7 separate regions of the Homo sapiens genome follow, and all the other regions are linked to region 6. The links are contacts of gene promoters, found by promoter capture Hi-C in blood cells and fetal thymus (Javierre and others, 2016). All regions are on one chromosome and are shown on one strand. The core of a region is centred on a gene start or on the middle of the fragment in contact, and the rest is flanking DNA. Distances in the headings are between cores, read along the strand shown. Region 1 overlaps ARHGAP26 (Rho GTPase activating protein 26). Region 2 overlaps ARHGAP26 (Rho GTPase activating protein 26). Region 3 overlaps ARHGAP26 (Rho GTPase activating protein 26). Region 4 has its middle 82 kb from the start of ARHGAP26-IT1. Region 5 has its middle 39 kb from the start of ARHGAP26-IT1. Region 6 holds the start of HMHB1 (histocompatibility minor HB-1). Region 7 overlaps ARHGAP26 (Rho GTPase activating protein 26).

The links. Contacts are between HindIII fragments. The CHiCAGO score rates a contact against its expected background, and 5 or more counts as called.
Region 1: a fragment that was not itself captured here is called in contact with the fragment with the promoter of HMHB1 in region 6 in 6 of 17 cell types (erythroblasts, total B cells, naive B cells and 3 more); the score reaches 7.4 in erythroblasts.
Region 2: a fragment that was not itself captured here is called in contact with the fragment with the promoter of HMHB1 in region 6 in 7 of 17 cell types (erythroblasts, total B cells, non-activated CD4 T cells and 4 more); the score reaches 9.3 in erythroblasts.
Region 3: a fragment that was not itself captured here is called in contact with the fragment with the promoter of HMHB1 in region 6 in 1 of 17 cell types (naive CD8 T cells); the score reaches 6.8 in naive CD8 T cells.
Region 4: a fragment that was not itself captured here is called in contact with the fragment with the promoter of HMHB1 in region 6 in 1 of 17 cell types (M1 macrophages); the score reaches 5.4 in M1 macrophages.
Region 5: a contact is called between a fragment that was not itself captured here and the fragment with the promoter of HMHB1 in region 6, in 2 of 17 cell types (naive B cells and M2 macrophages). The highest score is 5.5, in naive B cells.
Region 7: a fragment that was not itself captured here is called in contact with the fragment with the promoter of HMHB1 in region 6 in 1 of 17 cell types (naive CD4 T cells); the score reaches 5.4 in naive CD4 T cells.

The regions. Positions count from the first base shown.
Region 1 is chr5:143,038,106-143,042,172 of GRCh38, forward strand. It overlaps ARHGAP26 (Rho GTPase activating protein 26), which reads left to right. Exons shown (of 23, transcript NM_001135608.3): 14 at 3,711-3,785. Among named protein-coding and RNA genes, the nearest start is that of ARHGAP26-IT1, 150 kb to the right of the region's middle. The HindIII fragment of the contact is 3,509 bases long and covers 1-3,455 here.
Region 2 is chr5:143,018,422-143,022,030 of GRCh38, forward strand. All of the region lies in intron 12 of ARHGAP26 (Rho GTPase activating protein 26), which reads left to right. Among named protein-coding and RNA genes, the nearest start is that of ARHGAP26-AS1, 150 kb to the left of the region's middle. RefSeq lists enhancers at 1,125-1,174, 1,595-1,804, 3,485-3,574. The HindIII fragment of the contact is 2,362 bases long and covers 846-3,207 here.
Region 3 is chr5:143,154,559-143,158,518 of GRCh38, forward strand. All of the region lies in intron 20 of ARHGAP26 (Rho GTPase activating protein 26), which reads left to right. Among named protein-coding and RNA genes, the nearest start is that of ARHGAP26-IT1, 36 kb to the right of the region's middle. The HindIII fragment of the contact is 1,943 bases long and covers 1,322-3,264 here.
Region 4 is chr5:143,272,576-143,276,089 of GRCh38, forward strand. No RefSeq gene overlaps it. Among named protein-coding and RNA genes, the nearest start is that of ARHGAP26-IT1, 82 kb to the left of the region's middle. The HindIII fragment of the contact is 6,040 bases long and covers 1-3,514 here.
Region 5 is chr5:143,229,874-143,233,835 of GRCh38, forward strand. No RefSeq gene overlaps it. Among named protein-coding and RNA genes, the nearest start is that of ARHGAP26-IT1, 39 kb to the left of the region's middle. The HindIII fragment of the contact is 6,240 bases long and covers 1-3,962 here.
Region 6 is chr5:143,809,729-143,813,449 of GRCh38, forward strand. HMHB1 (histocompatibility minor HB-1) reads left to right here and starts at 2,433. Exons shown (of 2, transcript NM_021182.3): 1 at 2,433-2,576. The coding sequence starts at 2,540. The HindIII fragment of the contact is 5,854 bases long and covers 460-3,721 here.
Region 7 is chr5:143,077,799-143,081,836 of GRCh38, forward strand. All of the region lies in intron 17 of ARHGAP26 (Rho GTPase activating protein 26), which reads left to right. Among named protein-coding and RNA genes, the nearest start is that of ARHGAP26-IT1, 110 kb to the right of the region's middle. The HindIII fragment of the contact is 670 bases long and covers 1,352-2,021 here.

The DNA of each region.
Region 1 (4,067 bases), core at 451-2,950, 770 kb before region 6:
CCACTGGATTTGATTTGAACCGTTGTCAGAGATGTGAATCTTATTTACTCACAGCCTCTCAGCCTACCAGCCCTTTTTAAGTAGTGGAAAGAAATTCTCTCTTTTAAAGCAGGATTCATAACTTGCCAGTTGAGAAATATACACTTTTTTTTCCATAAGGACTGTGAGGCATTAAGTAGAGGGAAGAGAGAGAATTTAAAAACCTACCCTTATGTATACTGTCAAAAGATATTTTTTCCAAAACAGTTGTAATGTATGGAAACATTTTTTAAAATGTTCAGTTATTTCCCCTGTACCTCTCTTAAATAAAGAATTAAGGCATCTTGTAAAGGTATGTAAGATATATCCAGAGAATATAAAGTAGAAGTAGGTGACATTTCTGGGAATTGGTCTTGAGGAAATAAGGATATGGGCCAGATTGAGCCATAAGGATGTTTACACCGTGGTGATGTTAAGGTACAAAATCAGAAACGGGCCAAATGTCTCAAAAATGGGTTAAATCAACAGTGGTACATCTGTGTAGTAAAAAACTGTGAATCACTGACAATGCAATGGAAATACATTTTTTGACATACGGCCTTTTTTTTTTTTTTTTTTTTTTTTTTTTTTGAGACAGAGTCTCTTTCTGTCCCCAGGCTGGAGTGCAGTAATGCAGTCTCGGTTCACTGCAAACTCCAACTCCCTGGTTCAAGGGATTCTTCTGCCTCAGCCTCCTGAGTAGCTGGGATTACGGGCACACACCACCACGTCCAGCTAATTTTTGTATTTTTAATAGAGATGGGGTTTCACCATGTTGGCCAGGATGGTCTCGATCTCCTGATCTTGTGATCCACCCACCTCGGTCTCCCAAAGTGCTGGGATTACAGACATATGGCATTTTAAAAATTATTTATAATACGTGAAAAATGCAAGTTACAAAGCAGCTGCTCAGTATGAGCCCGTTCTGGGAGCAGTGGGGAGAGGAGTGGTCATATTGCACAGGTTTCATTGTGTTCTCAGTGGCTGTCTGCTGATTTTTACTGTTTCCCTTTGACTCATCTATTTACCTTAACTGTAGTTTCTAAGTTTTTTTGAAGTGTTCATTACTAAGGTAATTTTTCTTTTTTCTTTTTCTTTGGAGGGGACAGAGTCTTGCTCTGTTGCTTAGGCTGGAGTGCAGTGGCTCAATCTCTACTCACTGCAACCTTGGCCTCACAGGTTCAAGCGATTCTCCTACCTCAGCCTCCTGAGTAACTGGCATTACAGGCGCCTGCCACCATGCCCAGCTAATTTTTGTACTTTTAGTAGAGATGGTTTTACCACATTGGCCAGGCTGGTCTTCAACTCCTGACCTCAAGTGATCTGCCCACCTTGGCCTCCCCAAAGTGCTGGGATTACAGGCATGAGCCACTGTGCACGGTCTAACTTTCAACAGGAGTTTTAATTTTTTTTTTTAAATTTAAAAGAAAAGACCGAGAATAAAATGTACAGAGTTTAAAGGTAGAGGCACAAAAATGGAGCCAAAAGCGAGTCTAAAAAAAAAAAATCTCTTTCCCCAGTAAAGTTCATATACTTGCTTGAGCTGGGCCACCTATTCGTCTCTCAGTCTTCAGCAGCCAAAATCAAGAGAGAAACCTAATCATTTAAAACTGTTCACAGAGTCTGTAGTAAATGCAAACTGGTAGCTCAGGAGGACAACTTTTTCTGATGTAAAACTACAAAATAAATACAATAAGTAGGAGAAGAAGAGGTGTACAAGTTCCTCTTCCCCCTCTAAAATGAAAATGGAAATGATGTATTTTAACTTCTACGAAAGTCTTCATTGAGCACAAAGAAGAAATAAGGACAGTATGAGTTAGGTGCCATTTTAGCGTAAATAGTTGAAAAAAGTGGGTATCTCCCGATTGCAGTGTGTGTATGTGCATACGTATTTATGGTGATCAGAGATGAACAGACTTCCCATACTCTCTGGGATTTGACAATTGTCCAGTGGGAGGTGGGATTGTGTAAAGTCCCGGGAAAGCACAAGGATAGAAGAAGTAGAGACACTTAAGACTTTTCAAGCCCACAAGCTGACATGTTACTGAATCAAGTTTCTGCCACTGAGTAACTTGGGACCCATCACTTAGTTTTTGAAGTTTTTGACCAGGGACTCCTAGTCCGTGAATCATGCAGAATGATGTACATGATTTTACAGGTCCTTTTTAGCTGTAAAATTCTATCATTCCAGACCACTTCTTTTTATTCATTAGTTCCATGTCTACATAGGTCTTGTTGAAAGTACTGCAGAATTGGTCCTTTCCTGAGTTTCTTTTGGAAGATTGTGTTTTGGCCCCCAAGTATTTTATACTGGCCTTGATGGAGTATAATCTCGTGTTTTGTTTATTATCATGTACCATATACTGATCCAGGGACTGAGGATGTAATGGTGAACAGGACACAATTACTGTTTACATTCTATTGAGAATGTAACAGAAAAAACAAGTAAATAATCAAATAACAAACATAATTTCAGATATTGTTAACTGCTATAAAGAAAGAAAACAGGGTAAGGGAATGACCAGTAATGTTGATTGTGGATTGCATTAGATTGAAGCGGTTGCATTTAAGCTGAGATCTGAATGATGAAAAGCTCTGGGAGAAGAGCAGTCCAGGTAGAGGAAACAGCTGGAGCAAAGGCTATGAGGTGGGGCCATGAGCTTGGCATGTTGAGGTGACAGGAAGGCCAGTGTGTGGAGCAGAATGCATGTGGTCAATGATGCAATCAGAGGTAGTCAGTGCTCGATAGTATAGGCCTTATAGGCCATTGTAAGTAGTTTTGATTATGGTCTAAGTGCAATGGGAAGCTATTGGAGGGTTTTAAGAGAAGAGGTGATATGAACTAATTTGCACTTTAGACAGTTCACTTTGGCTACTGGTTGAAGAATGGACATCAGAGGAATAAAATAGGAAGCTGGAGCTCTATTACTTGAGAGGGGTCAGATATGATGGGCCTGGAACTAATAGGAGAAAAATCATTTCAAGTCACCTGGTCTAAATTGCCTTCTTTTGTAAATGGTACAGTGGTGATCTAATCCATGTATTTAAATGAACAGAAACACTGCAGTGGATTAGTTTTTGATTTTTTGTTTAGATGTTTAATTTAAAAGTAAACCCTTACTAGTCTAATTGTACAGTTCCTTGGGTTGAAATAAAGGTGGTCTTTTTTGATAAAGAATATTTGTATTATAAATGAATGGATCTTCTAATTTCTCAGTCTTGGCTAACATTCCTTAAAATTAAAAACATTCTTACACCTCCGTATTTTCATTTTTTGTGTAAAAATAGATTATAAAGTGTCTTTTTCTGTTGTATGAATTTTTAATGTCATTTTTGGCATTTTAATTTTAAAAATTGGTTAAATATGACATATTTAAAAGTGTACATTTTGCATCTTTTAGAACTCTTCAGATGCTGCCTTTGGCAAGAGAAAGGAAAGCTTCTTTCGCCGCTGATGACTGAACTAACATGAGGGCTGAAGTGTGCAGCACATCCGTGAAATCCTAGACAGCTGTACCAAATCCCACTCGTTTGCTAAGAGCTGAGCTGAGTGACAGGGGACTTTAATTAGAGCAGCTTTTAGGAGGACTGAGAAAATGAAAAAAAAAAAAAAAAAAAGTGCATTTGGCTGGATTGGCCTGACTTGTGTTCTGACGTGCCTCTAATTAAATCATCACTGTTTCTTTCCTCAGGGATCAACGAGCAAGGGCTGTATCGAATTGTGGGTGTCAACTCCAGAGTGCAGAAGTTGCTGAGTGTCCTGATGGGTGAGTGCCGCAGTGGCTCTGCTAGGCAGGTCCCTGGATGGGGGGCCCACTCTGAAAAGTCACCAGGTCTGTGAGTAGATACAGCCTGTGGCAAAGGAATCGGGGTGTCCGTGAGCTGTCACCTAGAAGTCATCTGCCCCATCGGTCAGTTGTCATGGCTTCAGACACTGCTGGGAAAGGTTCTGAGTAGGACTGGACAAAATAAAAAATGCCAGGGCCCAGACACCACACCCTCTCTGTCTGTAGGCTCAGTGCTCTGGTCCAAGTGGCACTCAGTCACTC
Region 2 (3,609 bases), core at 777-3,276, 790 kb before region 6:
ATGTCACAAAGATGTGTACCTATGTTTTCTTTTATTGGCTTTATGAGTGTGTCTTGCACATTTAAGTTTCTAATCTAGCTGATTTCCACCACTGTATGAGATGTTCCATGAAGATCCATTCTTATTTTTATCCTTGGGAAGAGTTAGTTTTCCTATCAACATCTACTAAGCTATCCATTCTTCCCTCGATTGATTTGTAGTGCCAGTGTTCTTGCATTTTAGGTTTGCATATTTTAGTTCTGTCTCTGAGCCCTTTATTCAGGTTTTTTGTGTAGCTGTTTTTGTCCCAATACCTCTCTGTTTTTAATAATAACTTTGAGGCAACTCTTAATATCTAGTTATATAAGTCTCCTCTATTTATTCTCCCTTTTGAGGTTTGACTTGGGTATTTATGAGTCTTTATCCTTCTGTATAAATTCTATAATAAGTTTAAGAAGTTTCCCCTAAAATAAAATTTTTCTTTGCGAGTGCATTGAATCATACAGGTTATTTGGAGAAAGTTGACACCTTTGTAATATTAAGTCATGTCTTCCAAGGGTTTTGAATGTCTTTCCATTTATTCAGACCACCAGTGTTTTTTATTAGGATTTTATTTTTCTGCCTAGAGATCGTGTGTGCTCCTGGTCAAGTTAATCCCTAAATACTAAATTTAAAAACCAATATTTTATTTTGCCAGCCCTGCTACCCATGGGGACCCTTCCTGGATTTGCTTCTAGAATGTCAGGAATCTATATCAGTGACACCAGATTCTCTAATTTGTCAAACTCTTACCTAGTAGAGAAGGGAAGGGGAAAAAGGGAGTATTGGTAATAAAGAAGAAGAAAGTATGATATTGTTTCTTCTTAAGCTTTTTTTTTTGAGGAAGTGGTCACTGCCAGTGTCAGTCACCTAGTTATCTGATACTTGTCATTGATTCGTCCCTTTCATTATTACAAAGAACAAGACTTCCCTGGGCAAGAACCATTTCTCCCATCTCACCCGCTGCAGCCCCGTTTGCTGTATCTCTCGATGTCTTTTTGTCTTTTTGCTGTTCCCTACCTTTGGGTACAAGGTAGGGAATATCTTTAGGGAGTTATAAAATTTACTCCCCAAAGACTATGAGAATTGGTTCATTTTTCTTTGTAATGAGTCCAGGTTGGAAGCAGGATGAGAGGCCTGTTCTCAGCTCAGGCTGCTATTGTCCTGCCGTCCCACCTGAGGGAAGGTTAGAAAGCCGAGAACTTGTCAGAGAGAACACACCAGTCCAGTGCAAGGGAGTAAGAGAAGGGCAGGCTCTTACAGTGTGAGTTGGTCTTTTCCAAGTTTGATGTTTTAAATAACAAATGTCACTGCCTACTTAACTCTAAAAAGATTAGCTTGTTTACAAGAATGCTGCCCTCCCACTGTTTCTCCAGCTGCTTGAAGGCTGAAGTCTGACAGATTGAGGCAGAGAGGGCTCAGTCTCCTAATCTTGACTTTATAGTGCCACTTTCCTCAATGTGGGTATTAACTCAGATTCCATAGGTTAATCGGGTTATGTTGAAAGGAATATGCTGAAGTTGCTGCAGGCATGCCTTCTCATGCATGTCAGGACCTGGCTTAACACTGGCCATCTGGCTTTTCAGAATGCCATTTTGTAGTTCACTCCACTTCTCACTCTTGTTCAACATTTTCCTGTTACTCCCACCTGGATCTTGTGCCGGATGAAACTGCAGGAGTCCAGGCTTCCTGTAGCTCTTCCTTCAGTGAATGCCTCTAGAAGTTCTTGGACTCCTGGCCTCACGTGATCCTTCCATCTTGGCCTCCCAAAGTGCTGGGATTATAGGCATGAGCCACCACGCCCAGCCTTCTGGGAGTTCTTAAGGGCAGGTGGCACTGAGATATATGAGTACCGAGAGGTAAGGACACTCATAACTAGAACACACATCTGTCTCTACCTTTAAAGCTCATGTGATCTGCTGTGGAGGTTCAGACCACAGGGGAACAATAGACAGATGGCCCAATTACATCGTGTGGGTGTATGTCATATTCAAACCATCTACAGAAGTACCCAGGGTGCAGACTACATGCCCAGAGCTCATGGATTTGAGAGTGAGCTACACTTGAAAAATGGAAATTTCCTCCCTTCTCTCCTCCCCAGAAGAAGAAAAAATATAACACTTCCTCCTCTTTGCATCCAAGTCCTAGTCCTTTCTTTCCTTGTGGTTTGTTTTTAATCTAGTGCTCTAGTGCTTTTTTTTTTTTTTTTTTTTTTTTGAGATGGAGTCTTGCTCTGTTGCCCAGGCTGGAGTGCAGTGGCATGATCTCCGCTCACTGCAAGCTCCCCCTCCCGGGTTCACGCCATTCTCCTGCCTCAGCCTCCCAAGTAGCTGGGACTACAGGCACCCGCCCTCACGCCCGGCTAATTTTTTTGTAGTTTTTAGTAGAGACAGGGTTTCACCGTGTTAGCCAGGATGGTCTCGATCTGCTGACCTCATGATCCGCCCATCTCGGCCTCCCAAAGTGCTGGGATTACAGGCGTGAGCCACTGCACCTGGCCTAATCTAGTGCTTTTATAAGAATCCTTTATATTTGAATAAAAATGCTGAAGAACCCACTGCAGTTTGCCAATTTGTCATTCACACTGGGAGGTGGGGAGAAGAGCAGTGATTGAAGAAGGAAATATGAACTCATTGTAGAATATTACAGAAATACAGCAAAATGATTTTGAAACATTCAGTCAAAAATCATTGGTAATATTATTCCCAGAGATACTTCCTTCTTGCCTTTTTTAAATGATGTCTTGTATGTATTTTGTCAATGTCAGTATGAATTTTAATTTAACTGGCATTATGTTGAATATGCTTGTTGTATTCTGCTTTAAAAATTACAGACATTTTCTGATGTCATGAAATGTTTAGAAGTATCACCTGTCATGGTTGTTTAATATTCTGTCATTGGACTATATCTTAATTTGTTGAATCATTTATCATTGTTAGACTAATGCTCTTTCCAGGTTTTTGGTATTACAAATAACATTGGCCTATGTTATTCATAATAGCTTCAAAAGTTATTAATTTCATCAGTTATTGGCCTTGTACATCAGCCTTTGTACGTATCTCAGATCATTCTCTTTGGGTAGATTCCGCCACGTGGATTAGAGAGAGGGTTTGCATGGAGGAGTAATGTGTGGCTGGTGTAGAATAGCATCCTGGGTGTAGAACTTTGGACAGGTGGTGCGCCTCTCTAAGCTTCCATTTCCTCTTCTGTAAAATGGGGATAATAATACCCCTGCTTCATAAACTCATTGTAAGAATGAAAGTTCAGCACATTAGTATCTGCACATTAGTTGGTAAGTGCCTAATTACTCTTGGTTATTACTCTTATCATCTGGCCAGGCCAGTTACTCCCACAACAAAAGGAAAAACCCACTGGAAAGGAAAAGCCAGCTGGATTGGTAACACTGCTCTTGAAGGGAGGAAGACAACCTGCTACTGTTTCTCAGTCTTGGTGCTTTATGAGTGTTCATTCATTTAATCCTCGTTACTGTATTTCTCAAAGTGGGGTGTGCACACCACTGGTGGTACACTAGGTCATTTGAGAGAGTATATTTTAAATTACCATCTAGACTTCTGTATTTATTTTGATGTG
Region 3 (3,960 bases), core at 1,043-3,542, 660 kb before region 6:
CACTCACCTTCCCCCACCAGCCTCCTACCTTGAATCTGAGACTGGAGCTATAACTCAGTCCAGGCTTTAAGTGATCAGTGAAGAGGAGGAAGGAACTTCTGCTGTAGAGGCAGGTGCTACCCCTCCTTAAAGCAAGACCAGCTAGGGTAGACACGCCACACCCTGTTCCTGAAAGATTTGGAAACCTCTGAATCCCACAGGGTACCTGATAATTGTGTGCATAGCTGTTATTTATTGAGACCAAATGAATGGCAAAATGAATAATATGCATTAGACAAGTGATAATTCATAGCATTTTTTTTTTTAAAAAGCAATTTTACCATCCCCATGCTATTTTATGCCAAAGGGTTACACCCAAACAGGCTGCTATGCTTTTACTAGAATTGTCTCTATTTGTCATCCTTTGGAATGTGGGGCTTTGAAAGAGGAAGTTTTCCTCTGTGGCTGGATCAACTTTTTGTGGAGAAGGATCTTTCCTTTTAGATGGAGAATTCTGTTTCTCACCCACCTCCAAGCAGAAAAGATCTCTTCAGACCGATTTGCCTGAAAAGTTGGTGACATTCCCCACCTTTGGAAATAACCTGAACGCCTCATTGTTTTCAAAAGGATTCATTTGCCCCTCCTTGCTCCCCACAGTGCCCTTGGGGATTCCAGCTTACTTACTCGTTCATTGTTGTTTCTTGGACATGCCAGATACCCTCCCTCTGTCACCTCAGGCTCCTGGGCTGTGGAGGCCACAGCTCTGCCCTGTAACTAGGCCACGTTTCCTTGACATTTTCAGTTTGTTACTGGTGTGACCCATTTTCTGAGTGGCTTCATGTCCACTTTTCTCTTTCCCTAAGCAAGATCTCACTCATCAATCGGGAGCCCAGCTGGGCTTCCCTTGGTTGAGGGTGGAAATTCCTGCCTTCATCCAATTTTTATGAGATAAATGTGTTGGTTATTAGTGGTGGTTCTTCTTTTTTAAAATATAAAAATTGCTTGAGACAGACCTCACACTTGGTGACCCAGCAGGGTTTCTTTCCCAAGCACCAGGGACCCATCGGTGGCACTTGGATCTCTACAGCCTGTCAGCAGAGGGGGTATGGGAGGAGGTAAGGGCAGAGCGCCGTTTGAATGCCTAGCCACATCCCTGTTTTCCAGCAGAGTGGAAATCACAAATGGAAAAATGTTTTCCTTTACACATATTGTTCTGTTCTTTTCTCCTGTACAAGCTAAAATCATATAAAGGGTCTGTATTTTTTCTATAAACTTATAAATCTTGCTAAATAACCTAAAACAGTTTCCAAAAATTGCCCTGACATACACAGTACATGCTTAAAGCTTTGGAGTTTAATTAAAGGTATGAATGACTGAATTTCATTTTGAATTTAGCTGCCCTCAAATGCCTTATGACACTGTATTTTATTTGTGTAAGTGTTAGGCATTTTAAATCTCAAATTTTTGGTAGAATATTTGGGAAGGAAATAGGCTTAAGATTTCGCATGGCTTTTTCAACATTGTTATGCCTGTGAGGGAACTTTGAAGGAAATCTAAAGTGTTATTTTTCTTATTTAGGATTAGATTAGAATTGTTTCTACCTCTGTGTATTTAATCTGAGGGATCTTATTCGTAGATTCAGATTCTAAATTGGGTAAATTAAAAGTACATTAGAGTTCAAGTACTGCTTTTGAAACCTTTTTTAGTCAATCTGGAAAGCAGATGCTTACTTAGCTAGGAAAGCATTCCTAGTTGGAAACAGCCTTAGAATCTTGTTTTTAACTCCTTCTCTGCATTAGGGATCTGGAAAGCCAGGCAGGATCAACCATAGGCTTCATTTGGTCTCTGTTACACTGGTCTTCCAAGGCAGACCCTTAGCTCTGTGCACTGGTTCTCAGAGTGTGGTCCTGGGACCAGCATCATTGGTGTTACCTGGGAGCCTGTTAGATCTACAGAATCTCAGGCCTCACCCTAGACCTATAGGATCAGCATATTCTGGAAGGAGGGCCCTGCAATCTGTGTTTTACCAAACCCTGCAGATGATTCTGATACATGCTCAAGTCTGAGAGCCATAGTGCATAGTGATCTAGTGCGTTAAGCTCATGGACTTCCACCAGAATAAAATCAGGACTTACCTCAGTGTAAAGCTCTCAGGGCCAAGCCTGTGTCATCACCAGCACCCTATGATTGTCTGTGCAGTGATGACAGTACTGGGGCTTAACTGAGCTCTGCCCGTGGCCTTTGGGATCAGTCACAGCTTATATAGCTGAGGAGGGATGGGTTTGCTTTTCACAGGAACCTATTAGCTCACCAGGGCTGCACTTTCCATCTCCCCCCAAAAGCCCAGTCAGCTGCTTCGCAAATGCGTGCCTGTTGGTTACAAATCAAGACAGGGTGGGTGCATCAATTAATCAAGCCAGTAGATGTTTTTATTGTTTATCTATTGTGTGTGTAACATGAAAAGATCAAGATGCTGGTATTGACAGAAAAATAGCTCTCAGGCTATGTGATACTGAAGGTGATGGATGAGCATCGGCGTGGACAGATTAGAGATGTCTAAATCAGCATTTCCCAAACTGGTACAGGAAGGGAAGGGGGCAAGAGCTGCTTTGGACTAAGTTCAACACATTCTTTCTTTTTTTTTTTTTTTTTTTCTCGAGACAGAGTCTCACTCTGTCATCCAGGCTGGAGGTCAGTGGTGTAATCTTAGCCCACTGCAACCTCCACATCCTGGGTTCAAGCAATTCTCCCACCTCAGCCTCCCAAGTAGCTGGGACTACAGGTGCACACCTCCACATCCAGCTAATTTTTATATGTTTTGGCAGAGACAGCGTTTCACCATGTTGGCCAGGCTGGTCTTGAACTCCTGACCTCAAGTGATCCACCTGCCTCAGCCTCCCAAAATGCTGGGACTACAGGCGTGAGCCACCATGCCTGGCCAGTTCAACAAATTATTGACTAGAGAACTTCTGAGCCTTTAATATGTCCATCTTGAAGGGGCATCTCTTACGCTACATTTCCTAAATACGTTGACCATAGTACATGATTTCTACAGCACTTCTCTTAAGCCTCTTGAAAGAGCATTCCATGGTTTGGGAAATGCTATTCTAAATCGACATTCTACTTTTGAGGGGGGAAAATGTATTTCTCATAATGGATGGCATTACTATGGTAGAGATCCTTTCAGAGAACAGAGATTTTGTTTATATATAAGTGTATGGCCACAAATAGCTTTCCGAAGACTGAAATGGGTTATAGGGTTATATCACGTGAAAAGCATTGGTAAGCTTTAGAATCTGGGGCAGGGCAAAGCCTGTGTGGCCTGATTGTGGATCTACCAGGGTCAAGCCTCAGCTCTGCCATTTCCTAACTGTGTAAACTTGGGAAAGTTATTTGCTATCTCTAAGCTAAACCTCTTCAGTGAAATGGTAGCAATAATAATAATACCTACTTTCAAGGTTATAAGATAATGCCTTCCTAACACTTAGTAAATGGCCTCGTTCAGAGTATCAATCAATAAAACCAATCAATAAAAATTGGTTTCTACTATTATTTTTATTCCTTCTTCTTATTTGCTCTCAGACTGCTCCCCCTACCAATGAACAAACCCCTAGTGTTGATTTCTTTCCGTGGTGGCAGTGGATGGACACTCAATGTTTACTTTTGTTTATTTGTTTGATCCTGATGTAACATAAAGCAACCCAGATTAAAAACATTGATATAATTTTAAAAAGGAATTAAAATACCCCAAATTAAATTAACTATAAATAATAAAATACACTGAAATCAATAGAAGTGCTCCTCTTCCAAGACAGGCATCGAACTGTTTACACAAAGAGCGTTGGTCAAAGCCCCCTACCCTATTGTTCCTCCGTTGGGTGGAGCCAACTGGAAACTACGCTGATTAGGCTAGAAACTAATTGCAATCTCAACTCTCCACTGGGGAAGAATTTAGCCTCAGGAATTCCTCTCCAGCCTAGG
Region 4 (3,514 bases), core at 912-3,411, 540 kb before region 6:
CCTTGGCCTCCCAAAATGCAGAGATTACAGGCATGAGCTACCACGCCCAGCCTTTTTGAAGTCTAGTAGTGTTTTTTAATTTTTAAAGATCACATCAGAATTTCTAAACAGATGATCACGTCATCTGTTAGTAAAGAGTTTTACTTCTTTGGTGATCTGGATGCCTTTTATCTCTCTTTCTTGCCTGATGGCATTGGCTGGAGACACCAGTAAAATAGTGTATGAAAGTGGTGAGAGCAGACCATGTTTTGCTACTGTTCTTAAGAGGAAAGTATCCATGAAGTATGTATAATGCTGGAAGATAATTTTTTTGTGTGTGATGCCCTTTATTAGGTTGAGGAGGTTCCTTCTATTTCTAGTTTGCTGATCTTTTTTTTTTTTTTAATTCAGAGTGTATGTTAGATTTTGTCAAATGGTTTGTCTGGCATCTTAATCACATGGATTTTTTCTTTTCCACTATTGTGAATTGCATTGGTTGATTTGTAAATGCTAAGTCAAACCTATATTCCTGAGATAATCCTTTGGTCATGATGTATCTTCCTTTAATATATTATTATATTCTATTTGCTAAGATTTTGGTTAGAACTTTTACATTTATGTTCATGAGGGATATTAGTGTGCAGTTTTCTTATATTTTGTCTAATTTTGTTATCAGAATAATGAAGACCTCATGGAATTAGTTGAGAAGTATTCCCCCCGCTTCAGCTTTTTTGGAAGTTTCTGTAGAATTGGCAAATAACAGAACAGCCTCCCTCAGCCTTATGCATAGCTTTGATTAATTAAGAAATGCAGGGTTGGAAATTTGTGTGCAGTTACTGTGTTCATACTGCTCTTCATCATTTGCCTCACTTCTATACATTTTTGGGGACAGCATTAAAAAATTCCCCTTCTCTTAGATTTTCATGAGGACTTAAAAAACAGCTAACGTGTATTGAATGCTTGCTATATGGTAGGAGTTGAGCTAAGCAGCTACATATATTTTTCAGATGTAGAAACAGATATAAAGTGATTATGGAATTTTCTCAAAATCACAGACTTAGTAAATAAAGAAGCAAGGCTTGAACCCAGATTTGTTTATTCCGAAGTTGTAAGACCACTAAGGTCTTAACAGTTATTAACACTTAGAATTCATACAAGACATGAGTAGTCATGTATATGCTGTGAGTTTTTTTACTTGTCATGTTGGTGATCTCTTTGTACATGGTTGCCCTCTCTGGGGATGGGTAGAACATATGACTAATTAAACATTACAGGGGCATCCATTAATATTAAACGAGTAAGGCTTTGTGCTGCTGAACTCCAGCTCATCCTTTAACATGTAGCACAATGAAGACATCTTCTGACAGGCTTTCCAAAAAAAATAGCTGCACTTGTTTTAGTGCATTCAAAGTGCATTTAGTGCATTTGTACCTGCTTTTGATACAACTGAATGGCAATTACACATTTGCTTGGCTGCCTCTATTTTTAATACGTATTTATTGAGATTTAATTTATATACCATATAAAATCCACCCATTTTAAGTGTAGCATTTATTAAATGTACAGAATTGCACAACCATTACTACAGTCTAGTTTTAGAACATTTCCATCACCCCCAAAAGTACCCTCATGTGCCCATTTGCACTTAAACCCTAATATTATCCCTAGCCATAGGAAACCACTGATGTGCTTTCTTTCTCTATATAGATTTGCCTTTTTTGAACGTTTCATGTAAGTGAAATAATATATGGTCCTTTTGTGTCTGGATTCTTTTACTTAGCATGATTTTGAGGTTCGTCACTTTTTTTTTTTTTTTTTGAGACGAAGTCTCACTCTGCTGCCACAGGCTGGAGTGCTATGACACGATCTTGGCTCACTGCAACTGCCACCTCCCTGGTTCAAGCAATTCTTCCACCTCAGCCTCCCGAGTAGCTGGGACTACAGGCGAGCGCTACCACACTCAGCTAATATATATATATATTTTTGAGATGAAGTTTCGCTCTTTTTGTCCAGGCTGGTGTGCAATGACGCTATCTCGGCTCACCACAACCTCTGCCTCCCGGGTTCAAGCAATTCTCCTGCTTCAGCCTCCCAAGTAGCTGGGATTACAGGCATGCGCCACCCGGCTAATTTTGTATTTTTAGTAGAGACAGGGTTTCTCCATGTTGTTCAGGCTGGTCTCAAACTCCCGACCTCAGGTGATCCACCCGCCTTGTCCTCCCAAAGTGCTGGGATTACAGGCGTGAGCCACCGTGCCCGGCCAATTTTTTTGTATTTTTCATAGAGACAGGGTTTCACCATGTTGGCCAGACTGGTATCGAACTCCTGACCTCAAGTGATCCACCTGCCTTGGCCTTCCAAAGTGCTGGAATTACAGATATGAACCACCGTGCCCAGCCACATTTTGTGTGCCACATTTTGTTTATCTGTACATTGGTTGATGGATATTTGAATTGTTTCCACTTTTTGACTATTAAGAATAATGCTGCTAAGAATATTTGCATGCAAGTCATTTGTGTGGACACGTTTTCATCTCTTCTGAGTAGATACATAGGAGTAGAATTGCTTAGTCATTTGCCTTTCATCTTTAATTCCTTGAGGGCAGGAACCTCTCCTTGGAGTCTTAGTATTGCCTTAGTGGTCTTTGAATTGCTTCATCTAGCATGCTTGCCACATAGTAGGTCTTGAAATTGATCAGGTGGTGTTTGTGACATATTCTCCTGTTTTGTGAGCCTTTGCTTGCTTTTATGCACACTGTCCCCCTTTCTTGCCATATTGAAAGAGTTTCATTTTTATCTTGATTCTTTGCAATCCTAGTGAACAACTGTAGAGGTTTTGGATGACCTAGATTTTTATTTCTAGCAAAACCCCATGTATATACTCAGTACTTTTAAGACAATGCAACTTTAACAAAAATAGAAAAACGTGTGCCTTATTTACATTATATACACATTATTACCCTATTGAATATTTTTGGTGAGGGTACATAAGGTGAACAGAATATAAATTGTCTCTTACTCAAGTGGGTAGAGTGAAGAAAGTCTTTTGAGTGTCTGATATGGTCTGCACAAACTCTTTTGTTCTGAGACTTACATGTTTGTAACCAAGTGAAGTAAAAATACTTCCCTAACAAAGTACTGCCCCATTTTAACTAGGAAACAGGAAGCCTAAATAAGAGGGAGGATGGGGTTATTTCACCAGAAAGAAAGTGCTATGAAGTTACCAATACTGTTAAGAACGACTTAAGTTAAAAGAGATTAGTTGAAATTCTAAAAAAAAAAAAAAAAAAAAAAAATCACCTTATGTAAAAGCCTCAGTATTTTCAACTTTTTTTCTACACCCAAAGTCTGGCTCTTTACCTGCAAAACTAGGAGCAAATTTTAACTTGCACTATAGTTCTCATTTATAAACAACTTTCTTCCTTGGTTTGACTGTACCCTATATGCTCCATATCACTTGAAGAAATGTTTGATTTTTCTGTGGGCATTAGTGAGACAGGCTCCCTGTTGTATATTAGACAAACCAAAGGGCATTC
Region 5 (3,962 bases), core at 1,154-3,653, 580 kb before region 6:
GGGTCATCCTGTAACTAGGCGAGGCTTTCTGAGTATGGTGTACATCTATGTCTGATCCTTCATGGAGAGAATGAAATACGTGGTGTGTATTTTATCTTTGTCCTTGGCCTTTCCAATAGATTTCCCAATCACTTCAACTTTCATGCCTTCCTAGCAGAAGGTTTTAATTTTGTTTTGCTTTTAACAGCCACTCAGAGCAGAGCGCAAACTGTCACGTCCTGTGGTTTTGCTTGGTGTTTTTCACTCAGTTCTGACTGCATGATTAGTCCTAAGAGCACCTGGGTTAGAAGTGGATTTGATTGACAGTTGAAATTAGGTAAATGTTAGAGAGTGAGTGTGATGAGAGATTTTCTCAGACCCCAAACACGCTTGCTCATGAGAATTAAGTCATGGCTCTAATTTCTTATTTTCTCAGTTCTTTCCCAACCTCCACTCAGATACCACACTTCTCTCCTACCTGAATGTGTCAGTGTCATTGGCTTGCCCTGCTTTTAATAGCACCAAGCTAAGCTGCCACTAATTAACTATGCGGGGTTAGTCAGTGTTGGCTGACTGCAGCCTGCACAGCAGCCAAGGGAGGCTCTAACCTCCATGGTAACTGCTCGGGGTGGGTGAGGTTTGTCACATGGAGGAGCTTTGCATAACCATCCGCAGGGAAGGGGCATGCCCATGCCGGGATGCATCCTTCAGAAAGCCACCCTGCGGTACCCAGTCAACATCAGACAGTGAGGACCAAAGCCAGAAGGTTTTAAGTTGAAATGATCAACACGGAGACCCTCTGTATCCCACAGCACTTAGCAACTCCTGTCGCACTGTAAATCTGTCACGTCTCTTACGTCATTGGCTCCATGAAGCCTGCTGCAACTTCCTATTAGCTGAAAGCCAGGTAGCTTTGATGCCTTCCCCAGGCCAACCAGCAAATTAGTAAAAACGTGAGTCCATGGGTTCTTTCTTTAGGTGCCAAATCACATCTTACCCTCCAGGTCTTGTGCCCACCGTAAACTTGAAATATTTGTTCTGACACTGTGGCTGGATGTCCTTTTGGGATTTGTGGGTGGGGGTAGATTATTGGAAAGAATTATTAACTGTTTTTCTACCTTTTCTGAATCTTCGTGACAAAGAAAAGGAGTAGTCATGCTTGCCTCACCTGTGATGAGCAAGTTGAAATTATGGCCGTAGAGGATGGCCATCTTTCTGTTACACCTTTTCTCCTATCACACCATTTTTCTCCCTCATGTACTTTCTACCTATAATTAATTCATGATTTGTCATCAAATGTTTGAGGCCCATCTTGCTCTTAATAAACAGCTCAGTTAGGACAGAGACCAGGTCTTGTTCATCTCTGCCCAGTACCCAGCCCAGGGCTGGCATGCAGCAGGTGCTCATAGCCCCTGGGTGGGCTGACCAAGGGGAAAAAAAGTGGGGAAAGCACTGCACTAGAAGGCAGTTCCTCCTCCCTGTTTTACTCTACAGTTATAGTTGGAAGAAAGAAATTGCATGTTATTACACTTGGGTACTTGAACACAGGGTAACTTTGTGACCCTTGGCAAAACGCACCATTTGCTCACATACTGGGATTGGAGCTTGTGGGAGGAAGACCTCCCACCCTCCACTCAGGCACACACAGCCACATTCTTTCCCAGCCTCCTTGGCTGGTGCTGGGCACAAGAAACCATCTGGAGAAGCAGCTGACCAAGAGCCCGAGACCCTGTGCTGTCATCTGGGTTACTTAGGGGTTGTTTCATGAACCTTATGTGAAAAGGGCCTGCCTTCAAGCAAAACCACATCAGAATCACCCCCAAACATAAAAGAAGTATTCCTTTGTAAAGTCCCTTCACGGAAATTCCACACTGTCCCACAGGAGTTTGGTCTGATATCTAACACTCTCACTGAGGGAATTCTTTGGGTCTGACTGAAGTTTCCCATGTGGCAGCTTAAGTCCATTTCCGTTCTGTTTTTCCTTACAGTGGGGAGTAACTGGCCATGGCCCATTGAGAGCAATCACCCTCGATTTTTTATGTTTCCATTCAGCCATCAGTTATTGACCACCTCTTCCATGCCGGAGCTGCTACAACCAGGAAGTGTAAGACATGATCTCTGTCTTCAGGGAACTCAAAATTGGCTTCTGCCATAGGGAAATATACAAGGAACAGCGTTTGCCATGTGGTATGACCATACTAGCAGTGTGTGGCAGGTAGTGCAGTGCGATGAGGAAGAGGCATCCTTCCTACTGGGAAATAGGAACCAGAGAAAGTTTCACGGAAGAGGTGGCATTCAAGATGGACCTTGAAAGATAGAGAAGAGTTTCCCACTTAGGCAAATGGAGACATGTCCCAAGCAGAAGGACAGCAAGGATCAAGAATGAAGGGGGGAGAGAGAGAAATGGGGAAGGTGGGAGTGGGGAGAAAGAGCAGAGAGAGAGAGGTGGCTGGGTGGTTAGGTATGATTTCAATGTGACTGAAACATGAGGAGTCAGGGCTTTCTGGAGAATTGAAAACTCTAGTCACCCTTACCCACCCCGCCTGTTAGCCTTTAGGCTCTGTTTTCTCTCAATGACTGACAATATTAGCTAACATTTAACTAGGTACCTAACGCTGTACTATATTAATCACTGAATCCCCAAGACATTTGAATGAAGTTCTATAATCATCTATAATTATAGATGAGAAAACTGAGGATCAGGGAGGTCACACAAGCCAGGTGGCGGTGAACCTAAAGTTCAAACACAGGTCTCTCTGCTTCTACAGCCCATATGACTTTTTTTTTTTTTTTGGAGATGGAGTCTCAGTCTGTTGCCCAGGCTAGAGTGCAGTGGTGTGATTCCAGCTCACTGCAGCCTCCACCTCCTCGATTCCAGCAATTCTCCTGCCTCAGCCTCCTGAGTAGTTGGCATTACAGGTGCAAGCCACCATGCCCAGCTAATTTTTGTATTTTATTTATTTATTTATTTATTTATTTTCAGTAGAGACAGTGTTTCACCATGTTGGCCAGGCTGGTCTCGAACTCCTGACCTCAGGCAATCTGCCTGCCTCAGCCTCCCAATGTGCTGGGACCATATGACCTTTTAAAACTTCCAAATTTATTTATAGATACACACACATAATTTTACATAAATGCATAATCACATCACACGTGATCACTTTAAAATTTCGTGGCAGTTTTTCCTTCTGGTTTTGATTTGGTTCTTCCATCCCCCACATCAGCCTCCTCCCTTTGCAGAACCCATGTTGACAACCTCATTTTGCCCTTCTCAGCAGTGAGCCCTTCAGAAAGCACAATCTCTGGCACACACTCAGCTTTGGTTTTCCAGTGGCAGGAATAAGAGCAGGAAATGTTTGGATTAAAAATTTTCTTTCCTTCTAGGAGCCCTCTGCTTACTCATCTTGGGTGAATAGTTCCCCATTTCTTGAGCTCTGTGCAGATACTCCTCATTCCCTGGGCAGCCCCGGGGACTCCAGCTGCAAGTGTTGGCCAGTCACTTCATCTTTGGGGATGTGGCATGGAGGCAGCCCCCACAGAGGGCCCAGCCGTGCTTTGCTGGCTGGAAATATGTAATGTGAAATTTTTAAAAAATTTAACAATGTGAGGCCGGACACGGTGGCTCACGACTGTAATCCCAGCACTTTGGGAGGCTGAGGCGGGCGGATCACGAGGTCAGGAGATGGAGACCATCCTGACTAACATGGTGAAACCCCGTCTCTACTAAAAATACAAAGAATTAGCCGGGCGTGGTGGCAGGTGCCTATAGTCCCAGCTACTTGGGAGGCTGAGGCCGGAGAATGGTGTGAACCCAGGAGGCAGAGCTTGCAGTGAGCCGAGATTGCGCCACTGCGCTCCAGCCTGGGCAACAGACCCAGACTCCATCTCAAAAAAAAAAAAAAAAAAAAAAAAAACTTAACGATGTGAAAATGGCTCCTTTCTCCACCCCGATCCAGCTGCCGACAACAGACCTTCAGGCTCTA
Region 6 (3,721 bases), core at 1,183-3,682:
GCAGGAGAATGGCATGAACCCAGGAGGTGGAGCTTGCAGTGAGCCGAGATTGTGCCACTGCACTCCAGCCTGGGCGACAGAGCAAGACTCCGTCTCAAAAAAAAAAAAAAAAAGGAAAAATAGAAAGTTAAAGTTTCCTTTAATTATGAAAGCAATAGTAATACCTAAATTTTTGTTACCAGTGAAAATTCTGAGTCTAATTTAATTCTGTTATTTTCATAACACATTTTAGTTTTTGCAGATATCTGTAAATATCATTCCCAGGTTGATATTAGACATTTTTAGATCTTCTTATTTAATATGTTATTAAAGAAGAAAATATGTTACTATGTCACAATTTTTAACATTTTGATAACTGTATTCAATATAATTGGCTCTTTATAATTCTATATATTTTCTTTTATACTTATAAAAATGATGATTCTGAGACAGAGTCCAGGGGCCTTACCAGAGTGCATAAGCTTCCCAAAGCACAGAAAGTTAGACCTCCACACCTCCACAAATAGATCTAATTTCAGGGCAAGAAAAGCAGTGATGATGCTTTATGACCATATGTTCTTTTTGACAAAAAAGCAGTCTTTAACAGTTTTGGCTAATTGCAAAAAGCCAATGCATTCTCAAAGGAAAAAGATATGCCAACACTGAAGATACTTTTGAGAAAATTCCATCATCAAAGAAGATGGTTTTTGTTTTTTACAGACCCAGTCTTTCTCTGTCATCCAGGTTGGGGTGCATTATTGGAGTGATCATGGCTTACTGCAGCCTCAAACTCCTGGGCTCAATTGATCCTCTGGCCTCAGCCTCCTGAGTAACTGAGGCTACATGTATGCACCACCGTGCCTGGCTAATTTTTTATTTTTTATTTATTATTTTTTTTTGTGTGGGGATGAGGTCTATGTTGACCAGGCTGGTTTCAAACTCCTGGGCTCAAGCGATCCTGCTGCCTTGGCCTCCCAAAGTGCTGGGAATTACAGGTGTGAGCCACAGTGCCTGGCTAAGATGGAGTTTTATATACAGAATTATCAGGCCTTCTTTCATATCTCATCCTCAATATGCAAATAACTAATTCATTTAGCAAATATTTATTGAACGTCCATTATGTATGAGGCACTATTGTAAGTATTGGAATAAGTGCAGTGAACAGGTCAGATATGGTAACTGCCTGGATGGAGTTTATGTTATAATGGAAGCAAATAGACACAAGAAATATGATCGCATCAGGTATTTATAAGTGTTATGGTGAAAATAATGCAGAGTAATCTAATCTAGGGAGTGAGAGGGTGACTAGGGTCACCCATGTGGTGGCTAGGTGCCTGGGTCTGGCGTTGCACTTCTTCCATTCAAATCCTGGCTCCATGCACCTCTGGCTCTATGGCCTTGTCCAGTTGTGCACTCTCTAAATCCCAGTTTTGTTACCTGTAAAATGGACATATTAACATTACCTACTTTAAAGAGGTGTTTTAAAGAAAATGGCTACTCCTAACATCTCCCCAAGAACCAAGCACAGAATTTTGGAAGTTTTAATATATTTTCTTAAAGAAGTCTCTTTCTCAGCATTGTAAGACAATTAACTAGATTCAAGTCTCAGAGTTGTTAAGTTATTTTATCTTAAGGCATCCAACGGCACAGATTGACATTAAAGTGAAAGAAGAACTAGCTTCATCATTGCCATTGTTCTTTACCATAGCCCATGGGAACACAGGACCCGGCTGACTGAGAAAAGTGAATGAGGGGAATTATATCAGAAATGACAGAGAAGGATGGGCAGGATTTCTGGCAGGCACAGGTATTTCTAAGTAAGAAATGGTGTGGTTAGGAGAGAATACTCTCAAGAAGGGGAGAGATGGATTCTGCGGCAAAGGGAGGTTCCTTCATTCAGTGTTTATGGAGAGAATAAAGGCGCTGGCCCCTCCAGTGAGGATATGGAGTAAACGAGACAATCAAGTCCATCACTCCTGGAGCCTGCATTCTAGTGTGGAAGACAGACAGCAAATGATACATCAACATTAAGAAATTCATGAGTAAATAAAGATAATTTCAGGCAATAATAATTACTCTGAAGAACATAAACAGGGACCTATGATAGAAAAGGGGTGTAAAGGAGTTTGGAGGATTTAAGCTGAGTGAGCAATCTCATCTCTATTTTGATAAGGTCACTGTGGATTCTGTGTGGATAACACATTGGATGTGGATAAGAACAGGAGCAGAGAGACCTCCAATAGCAGGAGGCTGCTCTAGGGGTCCTTGCAAGGGATGCTGGCAGCTTGGACCCGAGTGGTGGGATGCAGATGGAAGAGGCAGGTGGACAGATGAGACAGCTGAAGCAGGAAAAGCAGGCACAAAGGCTAACACAACACAATGTAACAGAACGGGAGTTTAGAACGGAAGGAACACTCCAGAGTCATTCTGGTCCAATTCTGCAGATGAGGAAACCACATCCCAGGAGGCCGAGGCGGCTTGCCCCGCATCTCAGAAGCCGGGCAGGCCCTGAGCCTTCTGACCTCACATCCTCTGCCACACCACAGTGGAGAAACCAGAACTGGAGGAGCAGCCAGAATGCAGAGAAGAAAAAAGAGGTGAGGGAGCGAGGAGGAGGGAGAACAGAGAGAGAGGGAAAGAGGCAGCGAAGGGGCAGAGAAAATGAAAGAAAATGCTGGTGGAATGAGAGGGAAACCACAACAGGTGAAAACAGGGATGGCGGAAGGCAGGGGAGAGGAGTGAGACGGCCCTTGTTGCTGGGATTATTTAGGGCGGATAGTTTCCAGTTGAGGTTCGGTTTCATAGCCCATTGCCTGGCTGCCTGCAGCTGTCAGGGCACCAGAGGCAGCAGTTGGAGCAGCTGCCTGCACCACCTGAGCCACAAGGACAACGGCAAGGGAAGTGCAGATGGGCAGGAAGTCCCTCTGGGTCGGAGCCAGGGTAGCCAAGATCACATTGTTCTTGCCCACCGCGTGGGATGCTCAGGCTTCCCAAGGCAGCCCAGAGACCAGACCCGTCCTTTATCCTTAGCATGGCCACCATCATCACCATCATCGCCATGCTCCCACTTCTTAGGATCATGTGCCGGGGGCTTTGCATGCATTTCTCTCTTTCATCCTCACAGAAGCACTTGAGGGGGGTATAGCTTTCCCCAGTTTACAGATAAAGACACGATGGCTTCATTCCTTAACTCACTAACCTCATTTCAGAGCCAGGAAATGGCAGAAAGGCCCTGCTGTCGTGTTTTTTGTTTGTTTGTTTGTTTTTTTGTCTTGTTTTCTCCTCTTGAAGAGGACACACGGAGCCCTGGGTTGACGTTATAGGAGGTGTTGGTGCCGTGCACTGAAGGGATCTGCTGTTTTCTCCTTCCTGCAACTGGAGGTCACTCAGCCTGGACTGATGAGGCCGGGGAAGCCTGTGCTCTGTCTGGTCCACACAGCCCCCTCAGCCACCCCAGGGAATGCTCAGATCCAGTTGCACAGGTAGCCCACAGAATACAAACAGAACTTTCTTTTAGAATTTTTATGCTGTTTTATTGTTTCATACAGACAACTACCGACCTTCCCTTTTTTCCTTCAAGGCCCCTTTCAAATGTCACCTCTTCTATGAAGGTTTTATTTCTTTCCAGGCAAAATAAACCACTCCCTTTTTGGTGCCCTCATAGTTTTACATTTTGGCCTAAAGCACTTGTTCGCCTCCTCCATCAGAGCATGGGATTCTTGAGGGAAGGAACTGTGTTTTA
Region 7 (4,038 bases), core at 437-2,936, 730 kb before region 6:
ATAGCTATTCGGACCACCTAGAGGGTTCGAAGGCCAAGAGTAGGGTGGGGCTGTAGCTGTTGGTGCCTAGGCTCTTCTTTTCTGGGATGCAGACTGAGCATATCTCCCCTCCCCCAACCCTGGTTTCCAGGAATCTCCTTAAGCCCCTGATTGCCTCTCACCTTTGCTGCCAGCCTCTAAAGGCCAGTTCATCTCTGCATGCCCTCTCCTATATTCTACCACCATTGAAATGAACAAACTATTGTATTTTCTCACCTTCTGTGAGTGGACAGGAAGAAGGGAGGGAGGAAGCTAGCAGGCTAGTCAACCAAGAAAGAAAAACCTTAACAAAGTTTAGGTTCCTGCATTACCCAGCCAATCATGTTACGCTAACTCAATAAAAAATGAAGTTTCATTGCAGGGAAAGTAAGTCAGGACACCAAAATGATGTGTTAGCAGGGCTGGGCCTAGGGCGAGGCAGAAGAGACACCTGGGTGCAAAATTGAAGGAGGCAATAACCTGCAACCATCCCGAGAGTGAGTGAGGGCCTCTTTAAATGTGGCCTGGGTGTGTCTCCTGTCTAACTCTAGTCCTGCCCCTGCTGGATTTCAATTCGGATTTTGGTTTTTTATTTTGGTCAGTATCCAGACCTGAGTGTGTCCGTTTTATTCCCTCGGCTGTGGACACTGATGGACCGTGCTAGAGAAGAGATTGATTCAGTCTGCTTTTAGTTTGCCATCTCAGACTACATCTGGAATTTTATAGCAGTTGGGCGGGGTGGGGGAGGTTTTCAGATAATAGTATTTTGTTTCAGAGAAAACTTTTCAGGAATGTGTCTTGCTGGTAAGCAGAGACAATTGACAATTGCTTCTCTCCTATTAACATCAATAATTTAAACCTGTCCTAGAACTTAAATTATAATTGAGGCAAGAGGCAGATATTCAGACATATTCATTGAAAGCTGGCCTGTGTCCAACTGTGGTGAAATAAGACAGGTGGGTTTGATTGGCCTAAGAGGTGGAAAAATCAACTTTAGAGACTTTCTTAGCATCTGAGCTCTTTGGGTTCTTAAATACTTTCTTGATGGCTGACTGGTGAAACCGGTGGTTATGGTAGCATCACTAAACATACATGGCATTTTTATTTCAAGAAACCAAACTTCCAGACATGCACCTGATATCTTGATTGTGCTCTGCAAATGCAGAGTAATTTCCAGCTGGATCAGTAAAGGATAATATTGGCTGTGGGAAAAGTGCTAGGATTATTACTTTATCTTATCATGTGTTTAACTTTTCCTTTGTTTTCACATAACTAGTCTGCAGAAGGCCTGTCTCTCCCTCCTTTAACTTGTGCTCTCTTGGGAGTGCTTACAAGCTTTGTCATGTCTGAGTGCAAAGTCAGTTTGGAAATGGTAGAGGGATGGGAGGGCACAAAGGATCTATAGAGTTGGGCAACCAAACAAGTTAGGTGGAGGAAGCCTATGAAACATTATTTTTCTCAGACATCTACTGTGAAGTAAGCGCTTTCTCCTTTGGAGACTGCTAGAGCAGAAACCTCCCCATTTTTCTCCTTCTCTGTTTCCAGCGTCCTCTATGTGTCTATAAACACCTTTGCTACCAGGCTACGATTCTTTGGTCTTTGTAGTCGGCACGGGAGAAAGGCAGGCAGGGAGATCACCCAGGAAGCTCCCTTTGCCTTTTCAGAGTTAACGGTGCTGTGCAGCTGATTTGATTATTACATTTAACTGAAAAAACCTGCAGGGTGTGCCAGACACGGGACAACCAGCCTGGTATTGTCGGCCCCATACAAACCCTTCTCACTGTCAGACCGGATTAAACGAACATGTTTTTAAATATATTTACCTTGTTCAGGTCTTGGAGCAAGCACTTGCTTCATCTCAATGACTCCTTGGGATATTGTTATGTGTACATTGGACCTATTTTACCTGTGGACTCGTTTCCCTATAGCCTTAGCATGGTAACATTGGTGGAAATTGATCCAGTGGTGCAGCGTGCCTAGGGAAAGTGAGCTTGTTTGACAGAAGCTTTGCAGGGCCTAGGGAGAATCTAGAGATAGATGAGATGCAGGATTCTCCTGGTGCCCAAAGCCTAGGCTCATGTTGCCTCACATGGTCTTCTCCCTCTTTAAAAGACCAAGCCAGCTGTCACATAGCTCCAGAGCATCTGGATGGGGAGGATATACTGGGGAGCCTCAGGAGTATGACCTACCTCTGGATAGTGGGGGACCTTACACTATTCAAACACAAGTTCAGATGGCCATTCTAGTAGGTGAGTCCTGGTCACTCTTTTGCCTATAAGATGGGAGCTGACCTTTATATGTAGGACTGCTAGGAGCCTTTCACTTATTCATTCTTCAAATATGGGGATGCCTATTATATACCAAGTGCTATTCTAGGCATGGGGATATAGCAGTGCCCAAGACAGAGTCCCTGCTGTCTTAGAGCTTAAAGTTAAATTGAGGCAAGATGCAGATATTTGCACATATTCATTGAGTACCTACTCCGGATTTACGACCTGTGAATACAGTGGTAAATTTTTTTAAAAAATAGAAGTATAGACTAAATCCATTATAAAGATAATTTCAGGTGGTGGTAAGTGCCCTCAGGTAAGAGTAAGCCCAAGTATTGAGGATGGACAAGGAGCTGTGTTAGGCCAAGTGGTCAGGGAAGGCTCTCTGAGGAGGTAGCATTTAAGCCATGACCTGAATGAAGTGAGAGAGCAAAGCCCTGTGAAGAGGTAGAGGAAGGTTCCTCCAGGAAGAGGGAACAGCAAGTGCAAAAACCCTGGGAAAGGCACCTGCTTGGTGTGGAAACACCCTGGGCGTGGTCACGGAACAGTAAGATCTGTGTGGTACAAGCTGAGTTTGCAGAGCTAAGCAGGGGCCAGATGAAGTGGTAGCTTGGGGACCTCAGGAAGAAGTTTGAATTCTGTTCTAATTGTAATGGGGAGCCACTGGAGGGTTCTGAGGGTGTGAATGGCACAATCTGTGGTGAGGGTGTTTCTTTTCCCAAGGACACCCAGTTGCTCTATGGCAAATGAGCTGAACAGGAGCTAGTGTGGTGTTGGGGAGGCTGAAGCAGTAGTGCAGATGAAAGACACTGGGGCCTGGACTAGGGTAGTAGTGGTGGAAATGCTGAACAGTGGGCACATTTGGGATATATTTTTAAAGATAAGGCCAACAGGATTAACCAATGAGCTAGATGTGATATGTGTAGGGAAGGGGGATAAAGGATGACTCCTGGGTTTTTGGCCTTCACTGGGGGAGAAACGGAGGTCTTGTCTTGTTTTATTGTTGTGGTGGAGTGGGTGGGTGTTGGGGTAAAGACACCAAAAGTTCTACTGAGAGCTCTCAGCATACAGATTATTCTTTCTTGTATATCAACCACAGGACTGATGAGATCACTGAGGGCAGGTCTGTGGATAGAGGAGGAGAGGAGCCAGGACAGAGTCCTGGGGCTCTACAGCATTTAGAAGTGGGAAGAGGAGGGTCTGGCAGTGAAGATGGGAAGGAACAGCCTGGGATCAGAGCAGAGCCTTTGGCTGTATTCTAGTCAGGACTCACACCATAGAGAATAAAATAAAATCAAACTCTGGAAGACTAAGCACGCTGTTTGGGGAATATATTACTTGGTTGCTTTAAGACAATGACCTATGTTTTCCATTGATGTAATTGGAAATGGCACAGTTTTGAAGAGTGGAAGTCCTGGAGTCAAACAGACCTGAGTTCAAATTCCATTTATAGCACTTACCAGCTGGGGGACCTCCAGAAAATTACCTACCATCCGAAGACGGTGAAAACAGAGGTGTCCTTGTTTATAAAATGGGAAGAATAATAGGATCCATCTCAGAGTCAGTGTTGTCAAGATTGAGTTGATGCATGCAAAGTGCATATCCAGTTTCTGGCATGGAGTAAGGGCTTAAAAATGGTAGCTTTTGCTGGGAGCAGTGGCTCACGCCTGTAATCCCAGCACTCTGGGAGGCCGAGGCCGGCGGATCACAAGGTCAGGAGTTCGAGACCATCCTGCCGAACACAGTGAAA